4 separate regions of the Homo sapiens genome follow, and all the other regions are linked to region 1. The links are contacts of gene promoters, found by promoter capture Hi-C in blood cells and fetal thymus (Javierre and others, 2016). All regions are on one chromosome and are shown on one strand. Each heading gives the region's core, a stretch centred on a gene start or on the middle of the fragment in contact. The rest is flanking DNA. Distances are from core to core; before and after follow the strand shown.

Region 1 (2,763 bases), core at 52-2,551:
CAGCTGCCTTAAGCCTCAGTACTGTCAACCAGTGCCCAGGAGTATAGAGGAGTTCAACAATGGCCTGCGGTCCCCTGGCTGGATGGGGTCTGGGAGTCCAGCAGGCTGCCGGGGCACCAGTTCACATTCCGTGCTTCTTGCGGATGACAGCCATGGCAAGCAGCCGATCCTTCTCACGCAGTTCTTCGCGCAGCTTGGCCTCAGTGAGACGCAGGTGGCGAATGCTGCCTTTCATCTCTTTCATCTTCACTTCCATCAGAGCCAGGATGTCCCGCTGCTCATTCAGCTTGCGCAGGAGCTCCTCCTCCGTGGTGCCTGACGACAAGGAGTACGAATGGTCGGAGCCAGTATCAGGGAAGCCCTCTTCCCCTACCACCACCAACTGGGGGCCCATAGGGCACTCGGCAGCCTCCAGCCCTGCGGTAGCAGCCTGTAACTCCGACGCGGCGGCCGCAGCGGCTGCGCCCTCTGCGGCTGCAAACTCCACTTGCACTGTGAGATCGATGGGCTTCACGTCTTCTCCAGTGGGAGTGATGGGCGCCGGCTGTACGGATCCCGGAGCCTGACTGCTGTCTACAGTGGCCTGAAGGGTGAGAAGCACGGCCGCGGAAGCAGATACCAGGTTCGGCTGCAGCTGGGCAGTCTGGGCAGTGGAGGCAGAGGGTGAGGACTGCTGCTGCTGCTGCTGCTGCTGCTGCTGTTGCTGCTGCTGCTGCTGTTGCTGCTGTTGCTGCTGCTGCTGCTGTTGCTGCTGCTGCCTGCGGCGGGCGGCCGCGGCCCCAGCGGGTCTGCGCGCTACTTTGCGCTCATTGACGCCGCGCAGCGGGAAGATGGTGGGGACGCGTACCGTGTAGGTCTTGCGGCCGCCCTGGAAGTGAACGCTGCAGAGACGGTGGCCTGTGGTGGGCTGGAAGGTGGAGAAGCACCCACTGACGCCGGCACGCGACACGTTCTTGAGCCAGAGGCGCCGCAACTCAGCGTCCTTTGGAAACGTGTAGAAGTGCAGCGCCTTGTCCCGGTGCGAGTTGTTGTAGCAGCCTGGCACGCAGCACGTAAAGCCAGGCATGGCTGCGCCGCGCGGCCCGGCCCGGCCCACCGGCCTCCTGCGCTCTTCGACGGCCCAGTGGCTACGCCGCCGCCCGCCCCTCGACGGGCGGCGCCGCGCGAGGCCTTGGGTGGTATCCCACCACTGCCGCTCGGCGCAGCCGGCCCGCCCGGCGCCCCGTGCCCAGAATACGCTTCCTGCCGGCCCGCGCCGCGCCGCCCGCCTGGCTGCCCGCCTGCGCTCGGGAGTGGGCCCCGGGGACGCCGCGAAGGACCGCCTGAGAAAGAGACTACGCCCCCCACAATGCCCCGCGCCAGAAGCGGCTCACTTCCGGGGCGGGTGTGTGCGGATTCCTGCCGCCTTCCAAGGCACTGCGATAGCCTCCGAAGAGCAGATTCTTTCCCCAGCCCGTCTTGTCCCCGGCGGGCGAGAGAGGCGTATTAGGTTGGAACGCTGTCGCCTGGACTGCTCCTCACGAGGACCCGAATCCTGATAGGGGCGTGGAGCGGGGCGGTGCGCGCCTCACCGGTGCGCAAGCGCGGTGGGTATATGCCCACGGAGACTACAAATCCCGTGATGCCTCGCGCTGAACTAGGCGCCTTCCCTCCGAAGCGCCGCCTAAGGGAAAGATCGAGTTACTGCGGACCAGGATTCGGGCGAGGTTGTGCTGTTTGCCAGAACCAGTTCCCCAGCCCCGAGCCCCTTTGAGTCGACGGCATTGCTGCAGCAGAGGGAGACGAAACCTGGGCCTCGGCGCCCCGAAGGGTCTCAGGAGCCCCTTTCTTTGCGTTGGGGACTCTCTCCTGATTCAGCTGCTGCCTGCGTTGACTAACTGATCTAAACAAAGTCTCCAGTAGACGCCTACTATGTGGCTGACACGGTGCCGGGAGTTTGCGGGAGTCAGACCGACTGGGCTCCTCTCTTGGAGCCTGACTACCTAGACGGATAAGCGTCTGTCTTTTGGATAATAGATCTGAATGCACGCGAATGGATGTCTACTCACAAATAGTAATCGCTCCAAAGGAATTAACAGGAGAGCAGAGAAATGGGGGGGAGGTGGTGGGGGCCAGGAATAAAAAAACGAACGAAAGCTTGGGTAGGGAGAAGTAGCCAATTCTTGTCCCAGGAACCAGTCTGTAAGGCCACATGGCAGAAAAGAGCTAGGCTCCGCCATTAAAGAGCCTGGAAAGGGGTGGCCCGGGTAGGGCCAAGCGTAGGAAAATACCAAACTGGGACATGTTAAGGATTTGGGGTTTTATTCTGCAGGCCACTGAGAGCTATTAAAGGATTTTATGGGAAAGGATTTGCATTGTAACAATACACCTCCCCCCACCTCAACTTATTTGAGGGAATCTTTTTTTTTTTTTTTTTTTTTTTTTTTTGTAAAGGAGTCTCACTGTGTCGCCAGACTGGAGTGCAATGGTGAGATCTCGGCTCACCGCAACCTCCGCCTCCTGGGTTCAAGCAATTCTCCTGCCTCAGCCTCCGGAGTAGCTGGGACTACAGGCGCATGCCACCATGCCCGGCTAATATATATATATATATATATATATATATATATATATGTATTTTGTATTTAGTAGAGACGGGGTTTCGCCATGTTTCTCAGGCTGGTCTCGAACTCGTGAGCTCAGGCAATCTGCTCGCCTCGGCCTCCCAAAGTGCTAGGATTACAGGCGTGAGCTAGGATCACGGCGCCTGGCTGGGGGAAAATGTTT
Region 2 (2,700 bases), core at 169-2,668, 230 kb before region 1:
CTGGAAGATGGAAAGTGAATGTGAACCCAAGCGTGGACACTGGAGGGAGGCTGGGCTGGGTGGCAAAGGTTGTAAAGGTCACCCCCACCACCTGCAGCCTCTCTCCTGAGGGGAAGCACACAGATGGTATCCCCAGCCAGCCGTGACTGAGTTAACCAATGCTGATCAAGCACATGGGCCCATGGGAGGAAGAGACAGAGGCCTGACCACTAAGTGGTTCCCCACTTCCCGCCCAGCCACAGGCAGTTATACATGGGTCTCAGCTGACACTGAGGCACCACCCAGAGCTACAGAGTTATGTGGGGTAGGGACTGAACCAATGCCATAAGCCAAGGGTGGGAAGAGGGCTCTGGCAAAGGTTTTTCCCTTCTAGGAAACATCTTGAAGGCTGGAAGACTCAAACGAAGATAGATCCCCAATGGCAAAAGTGGTTCAGAAAGGCATCTATGTAAGAGGGAGGCTACAGATAGCTCACGTGAGAGGGAGAGAGCCTTCCAGGCAGACGACCCATTACAAGCACAGGTGTGGAGTTCTGGAAGCAGACAGGTAGACAGGGAGCTGTGGGGGCAGTGGCTAGGCCAGCTTGTGAAGGGCCTCAACTGTCAACCATCTGAGCTAGAGCTGCACCTGATCTAGAGAATCAACAGGTGGTCTCTCAAACTGCAGGGTGATGGATGTGAGTGCAGGCTCAAGGTAGAGGCTCCATGCTACAGCCCAATTCTCCTGACCACTGGTTCCTGGGGGCCTGGCCTGTGACTATCCCATTTATGGAAAATCCCCTTCCTTTGCATTCCTCTATCCTTCTAGTACCCTAGTTCCCAGAGCTCTGCTGATCCGTCCAGGGATGGGACGTTTCAAAGCTTTCAAAGAATCCCCTCCTGGGAGGCAAAGCTGTACCATCACTCCACTCCTCTACATCTACATCCAGAAGCTGTGTCCCTGGTCCCCTGGTGGAGTCAGCTTAGGGCTCAAAGTCAAACTTGGGCAATGCGTACAAGGACAGATGGACATCTTATTGTGCCTCTTACCAAATTTCCCGGGAAGACTGGGCAGCATGGAGCAACCTTCCCTGGGGCGACTCCAGCTGTTCTCGTAGCATCTGGCACAAGCAGTACTTGGTGTTGGTGTAGTGGTTGTCATACTGCACCGCCTGAGAAAAGAAATGACTTGCCTGATGCCCAGGCAGGCTCTAAGGCCTGGGCTATGCTCTGATGGCAGGGAAAGGAGCTCCAAGAAGGCACCAGAGATGTATGTGTAGCCAAGGCAATGTGACCCCCATAAGAAGAACCACCACTGGCCAGGAGCAGTGGCTCACATCTGTAATCCCAGCACTCTGAGAGGCCAATGCAGGAGGACTGCTTGAGGCTAGGAGTTCAAGAGCAGCCTGGGCAACGTAAGACTCAACTCTACAAAAATTAAAAAAAAGAAAATTATCGGCTGGGCACGGTGGCTCACGCCTGTAATCACAGCACCTTGGGAGGCCAAGGCGGGCGGATCACCTGAGGTCAGGAGTTCAAGACCAGCCTGACCAACATGGTGAAGCCCCGTCTCTACTAAAAATACAAAATTAGCTGGGCGTGGTGGCGGGTGCCTGTAATCCCAGCTACTCGGGAGGCTGAGGCAAGAGAATCGCTTGAACCCTGGAGGCGAAGGTTGCGGTGAGCCAAGATCGTGCCACTGCACTCCAGCCTGGGCGACAACAGCAAAACTCTGTCTCAAAAAAAAAAAAAAAAAGAAAAAGAAAATTAGCCAGGCATGTTGGCACACACCTGTAGCCATAGCTACTAGGGAGGCTAAGGCAAGAGGATTGCTTGCACCCAGGAGTTGTGGCTGTAGTGAGCTATGATCATGCCACTGCACTCCAGCCTGGGCAACAGACTGAGACCCTATCTAAAATTAAAAATAAAAATAAAAATAAATTAAAAAGCCACTTCGACCTTGGTCATCTACTCTTCCAGCTAGTGGTACAAAGCTTGAGGGTCACAGCCAAGGACCACGGTCAGAAACACATTCTCCTGGACAGCCTGACTGAGGTCTCGAAGTGCGGGAGCCCCTTCCTGCTTCAGCCACCACAGAGGACCTACTGCCAAGTATCTTCCAGGGAAGGGAGGGGAAACACACCAAATTCTGGCATGGCAGGTCCAGTGCCAGGAAAGGGGTGAGATTCTTCTATTCCTTCTAACCAGAATGGGCACCTTCCCTTCCCACATCTTGAATAGCCTCTAACTTCCCCCTACGTGGGTAAAACACAGCATCATTTAGTTCACATGGGTTACTCATGACTACATTTATCTATACAAGTGTGAGGTGCAACTGTCACCATCACTCCACAGACCGTGAAATGAAGGCTCAGGGAGGCAAGATGACTGACTGCCTGGGACACCCAGTGGAAGTCGGCTGGCTAGAGGTAGGGCAGGAGAGCAGTATTGGGTGAAGGTGGCCTTCCCCAGCCCTCCAGGACACCCTCCCATCCCCCACCCCCTATGCTGCTCTAGTAACTCCACGTGGGCCTATGACTTCAGTGGCTGGGAAAGTGCCACGGCACGCTCAGGACAAAGTGGGAAGTAAGTCGGGGCGCCCCGGCTGGTGGCAAGTCCTTGACTCAGCTTGTCTGGGAAGAAGGCACCTGGCTGGACCAGAAGCAGCCCTGCCTATGCTTGAAAGCCGCTCCCTTTCTCTGTGATAGCACACCCTCTTGAG
Region 3 (2,700 bases), core at 23-2,522, 160 kb after region 1:
TAAGACTGTCTCAAAAGCAAACAAACAAAAAGAAATCTAAATTCTCAGGCCCCACTCCAAACCTACTGAATCTCTGGGATCCAGCTATCTGTGTCTGAACAAGCCTTGCAGGTGACTCTGGTGGACATGAAGGATTGAGAGCCACTGATCCAATCATTTTGAATTAAACTGAGGCCCAGGAGCATTAAGGAATGACATCTTGGTTACATTTCACCAAGTCTTCGTGCTGTGATTTTTCTCTCCTTGCTAGAGCTTTATATTTTTACCTTACTTCTAAGGCCACGAGATCATTTCTTGCCCTCATTATTAGTTTTTCCTAAAATTAATGATTGGACTTAACCTTCCAGAGATAATACTTTTCATATCACAGCTCTTTTTATGGCATCTTGTTTTCTGCTTTGGTCTGACCTATGTTCTTCATCTTCTACCTCCGATTTCATCCTTAAAGCTTTCCCATGAATTTCTTAAAGGGGAGAGGGGAAGGGCCCTAATATATTTTATTCTTCAGTTCAGAAGTGGTTCAGGAAATTATATTTTAAGTGCAAGGTGCCCCTAGCATCTTTGCCACAGTTGAATGTTTTCTTAAGTCTGTCACTAAAAGGTGGGCTTCTGTGCCCAATTCTTGGCACTTCTGTGGTTCATTAGAAAAACACTAAGTTTGCAGGCCAGGCTTGGTGGCTCATGCATGTAATCCCAGCACTTTGGGAGGCCGAGGCGGGCGGATCACAAGGTCAGGAGTTTGAGACCAGCCTGACCAACCTGGTGAAACCTCGTCTATACTAAAAACACAAAAATTAGCTGGGCGTGTTGGCACGTGCCTATAGTCCCAGCTACTCAGGAGGCTGAGGCAGGAGAATTGCTTGAACCCAGGAGATGGAGGTTGCAGTGAGCCGAGATCACGCCACTGCACTCCAGTCTGGGTGACAGAGCGAGACTCCATCTCAAAAAAAAAAGAAAAGAAAAGTAAAAAGAAAACATTTTTGTAGAGACAGGATCTTGCTGTGTTGTTCAAGCTGGTTTCGAACTCCTAACCTCAGGCAATCATCCTACTTTGGCCCCCCAAAGTGCTGGAATTATAGGTGGGAGCCACTGTGCCCAGCAGATTTCAGCTTCTCCAATCTCTCCCTTGACTTCCTGGCAGGAGAGCTAGATAAACTCAGGTAGACATGTCTTTCATGGCTACCCAAAGACTCTGTACAGCTAGCCCTCAGGAGCCTGTTTAAGTCAAGATGTCCTTGCAGTCCCACACTGATACTACTGAGCCCTAAGTTTAAGAGTGCTGTTATTCAGGGTTGGGCTCAGTGCCTCACACCTCTAATCCAGCACTTTGGGAGGCCAAGGTGGGCAGATCGCTTGAACTCAGGAGTTAAATACCAGCCTGAGCAACATGATGAAATCCCATCTCTACCAAAAATACAAAAAATTAGCTGGGCACAGTGGCGTGCACCTGTGGTCCCAGCTACTTGGGAGGCTGAGGTGGGAGGTTAGCTTGAGCCCAGGAAGCGGAGGTTGCAATGAGCCAAGATTATACCACTGGGTAACAAAGCGAGTCCCCATCTAAAAAAACAAAAACAGACTATTTTTCAGATTCAAGAAGAGAGGTCTTTCCCTCTTTCCTCACCTCTTGAGGCATGAAACAGGAATTCCTTATCCTAGTTTTATCACCACCAAACTCCTAGCAGTCATAAAAGTCCTTTTTCCTCTAAACCCACCTCCTCTCTGCCTCACACTGCAGTATCCACTCTGTCGCCAGCAGCGAGGCATTATAGCAGGAGGCTTCTGAATTGGCCAGAACAGCAGCTCTCAGGTGGGGTGTCTGAGAACCTCATTTCCTCATTACATCCCTCCCTGGTCAGCCATATGTGTTCAGCAGCCAAATGGCAAAATTCACCCCCAGAACTGTGATTGTCTTCCCTAATCTGGAAGGCCCACAAGTGTGGAGAAGCACTGGAGACCCTCCAGAAGCAGTAGTGCTAGCAGTCAGGGGCTACTCTCCCTGCCGGGCCCCGTGCAAGGGCCTGGCCACCCTATCCCAGGTATGTGACACTTGGCTGGCTGTTCTTTATTGTCCTGCTAGTACCTGTTGTAAAGCTTCTTTTATTAAAGAAGAGCAGGAGATTGAAGTGTCATAAATTGAAGAGATTCACACCAACACGGCACATGTATACATATGTAACAAACCTGCACGTTGTGCACATGTACCCTAGAACTTAAAGTATAATAACAAAATATGTATTAAAAAAATAAATAAATAAATTGAAGAGATTGAATGATGTCATAGACTACCAATCCACATGCCTTGTTCCTTGCTGCAGCACTGAGGTTTGTAATCCTGGGAGTTTAGACCTACGTAAGATGCCCATAAGTACAAATGACAGATGCTCTGTGGGGTTCTTCAGGGTCAAGGTGGCAGAGGTGGGGGTAGGAAGTGAGAGGAGGGGGAAGGGTTGACCAGAGGCACCAATTTGTCTCCTGTGGGCTTGGTCAGTATGTGAGCTACCAGGGGGCCAGGCTGGGCCTGACTCTCGGAGAGGCCTAATAAACAGTACGTATGATAAAACAACTCCTCTGTATTCGTTTTGATTTTATTTATTTTTTGAGACAGAGTCTTGCTGTGTCATCCACGCTGGAGTACAGTGGCTTGATCATAGCTCACCGCAGCCTCTAACTCCTGGACTCAAGTGATTCTTCCACCCTAGC
Region 4 (2,700 bases), core at 151-2,650, 210 kb before region 1:
CTCTTGAAAAATCCTAATATTTTTCTATGAGAAATATATACACACTACATAAAAACAAAGACTATGATCTGAGTAATCAATGCTAGGGATAAAAAAATAGAGAAATCATGCCAAACAGACAATTCCTACAAGTAAGTAAATTAAATTTGAGACTAGAGACATATAAGACTGTGATAGCTTGATTTCCATAAACTGTCTCCAATAGTATAATTACTCATGACTGGCTCTTTGGAAAACATTAAAGCAGAATCTTCAGGAAGCCATCGTTGTACAATGTACCCCAGGTATTCAACACTGGCCTGGCACAGGGCATGAGTTGGGAAATCCCAGGGGATGGTGAGCCTCAGGAGGGCATGCAGCAATGGAGTCTCTCACCATCTGGAAGACCACCCTGTTCTGCTCTCTTTCACAGGTGCGGAAGACAACTCGATCATCAGGGGCGACAAAGTCCACTGTGCTGAGCACCTCTGCAAGAAAACCCAAACACATAGGGTCACTCAATGAAGATGCAAGTTCAACGCTAGCCTAAGCCCTGGAAGAAAACACAGCCAGAGTATAAGCTTCAAGGGGAAAGAGATCCTAAATGTATACCATTCTTACCAAAAATAACTATGCACATGGGAGGCTTCTGTGATGATGAGGATGGTCTATTTCCTGACCTGGGTGATGGTTGTTCATTTTGCAATTACTTGTGAAACTGCATGTTTGTGTTTAATGCACTTTTTCTGAATGGTGGTTAACATTTTGCAACGTTTAAAATGTTAAAACCGGGCCGGGTATGGTGGCTTACGCCTGTAATCCCAGCACCTTGGGAGGCCGAGGCGGGCGGATCATGAGGTCAAGAGTTCAAGACCAGCCTGGCCAACATGGTGAAACACCGTCTCTGATAAGAATACAAAAATTAGCCAGGCGTGGTGGGGTATGCCTGTAACCCTAGCTACTCGAGAGGCTGAGGCAGGAGAATCGCTTGAATCTGGGAGGCGGAGGTTGCAGCGAGCCGAGATCGCGCCATTGCACTCCAGCCTGGGCGACAGAGCAAGACTCCGTCTCGAAAAAAAAAAAAATGTTGAAACAAAATGTACATACATAGCCGGGCGCAGTGGCTCACGCTTGTAATCCTAGGACTTTGGAAGGCCAAGGCAGGTGGATCATGTGAGGTTAGGAGTTTGAAACCAGCCTACACAACATGGCAAAACCGCATCTCTACTAAAAATACAAAAATTAGCTGGGCGTGGTGGAGGGTGCCTGTAATACCAGCTACTCAAGAGGCTGAGGCAGCACAATCTCTTGAACCTGGGAGGCAGAGATTGCAGTGAGCTGAGATCGCGCCACTGCACTCCAGCCTGGGCAACAGAGGGAGGCTCTGTCTCAAAAAAAAAAAAAAAGTCCATACATGGAAGTTTGTCTATGTTTCAGATTTGGCCCAAATTTTCCCAGAAAACATCACTCTGAAGTTCAGCAAATTTACTATTTACTTACAGTGAGACAGGTGCTATGAGTGGAAGGTTACTATATAACAATCAATCTCCTATACTATTCATAGTTGCATATTTGCAAATGTGCCTATTTGCTAACATTTATTTGTGACCCCAAAATCAATACTTGTGATGTTTTCATGGTCATCCAAGGACAGGAACAGAGTGGTGAAAGTTTTGAGTTGCCTGATGTGCATGTTCCCAGCTGAGGTCAAACAAGGTGATGCTCTGTCTTCTCCCTTCAGCTCTCATACTGTCAACAAGTGTCCCTTTTGTGGTATATTTCATGCCACATTTCTGCATGTCTATGCTTTTTGTTGGTGATCTCACTGTTTAAAATGGTCCCAAGTGGCTGGGTGCGGTGGCTCACACCTGTAATCCCAGCACTTTGGGAGGCCGAGGCGGGTGGGTTACCTGAGGTTAGGGAGTTCGAGACCACCCTGGGCAACATGGTGAAACTCAAGTCTCTACTAAAATACAAAAAAAAAAATTAGCTGGGTGTGGTGGCACACACCTGTAGTCCCCACTACTTGGAAGGCTGAGGCACAAGAATCTCTTGAGCCGGGAAGGCGGAGGTTGCAGTGAGCCAAGATCACGCCACTGCACTCTAGCTTGGGCTACAGAGTAAGATTCCATCTCAAAAAATATAAAATAAATAAAATAAAATGGTCCCAACCATACTGCTGAAATGCTATCTAATGTTCCTAAGCACAAGAAAACGGTCATGGGACTTACAGAGAAAATACACATCTTGAATAAGCTTTGTTTCGGCATGAAATTATAGCACTATTACCCATGTTAGTGGGTTCAATGTTAAGTGAATCAATGGTATATATTAAATAATATGCCTTTAAACAGAAACACATGGCCAGTGTGATGGCTAAGTCCTGTAATCCCAGTATTTTGGGAGGCTGAGGCAGGGGGATCACTTGAGGCCAGGAGTTTGAGACCAGCTGGGGAACATAGCAAGACCCCCATCTCTACAAAAAATTTAAAAATTGGCTGGGCATGGAGGTGTGCACCTGAAATCCCAGCTACTTGGAAGGCTGAGGCAGGATGATCATTTGAGCCCAGGAGTTTGAGGCTGCAGCGAGCTATGGTCACACCAGTACACTCCAGCCTGAGCAACAGAGTGAGACCTGGTCACAAAAAAGAAACCAAACAAAAACAAAGAAACACACATAAAACAAAGTTATGGACTGACAAGTTGATGAAAATATGACCA

The links. Contacts are between HindIII fragments. The CHiCAGO score rates a contact against its expected background, and 5 or more counts as called.
Region 2: a fragment that was not itself captured here is called in contact with the fragment with the promoter of THAP11 in region 1 in 3 of 17 cell types (total B cells, neutrophils and naive CD4 T cells); the score reaches 5.8 in total B cells.
Region 3: a fragment that was not itself captured here is called in contact with the fragment with the promoter of THAP11 in region 1 in 4 of 17 cell types (erythroblasts, endothelial precursors, neutrophils and 1 more); the score reaches 6.0 in erythroblasts.
Region 4: a fragment that was not itself captured here is called in contact with the fragment with the promoter of THAP11 in region 1 in 1 of 17 cell types (naive B cells); the score reaches 5.5 in naive B cells.

The regions. Positions count from the first base shown.
Region 1 is chr16:67,840,858-67,843,620 of GRCh38, reverse strand. It overlaps THAP11 (THAP domain containing 11), which reads right to left and starts at 1,301. Exons shown (of 1, transcript NM_020457.3): 1 at 1-1,301. The coding sequence starts at 1,066. The coding sequence ends at 122. The region is part of intron 1 of CENPT (centromere protein T); the gene reads left to right. RefSeq lists enhancers at 1-27, 468-627, 339-1,085, 1,538-1,587 and a silencer at 1,108-1,287. The HindIII fragment of the contact is 11,152 bases long and covers 1-2,138 here.
Region 2 is chr16:68,072,484-68,075,183 of GRCh38, reverse strand. It overlaps DUS2 (dihydrouridine synthase 2), which reads right to left. Exons shown (of 17, transcript NM_017803.5): 13 at 1,029-1,150. Among named protein-coding and RNA genes, the nearest start is that of NFATC3, 12 kb to the left of the region's middle. The HindIII fragment of the contact is 1,112 bases long and covers 863-1,974 here.
Region 3 is chr16:67,680,299-67,682,998 of GRCh38, reverse strand. All of the region lies in intron 2 of GFOD2 (Gfo/Idh/MocA-like oxidoreductase domain containing 2), which reads left to right. Among named protein-coding and RNA genes, the nearest start is that of C16orf86, 15 kb to the right of the region's middle. The HindIII fragment of the contact is 1,643 bases long and covers 451-2,093 here.
Region 4 is chr16:68,051,331-68,054,030 of GRCh38, reverse strand. DUS2 (dihydrouridine synthase 2) reads right to left here. Exons shown (of 17, transcript NM_017803.5): 5 at 376-467. Among named protein-coding and RNA genes, the nearest start is that of DUS2, 29 kb to the right of the region's middle. The HindIII fragment of the contact is 1,675 bases long and covers 563-2,237 here.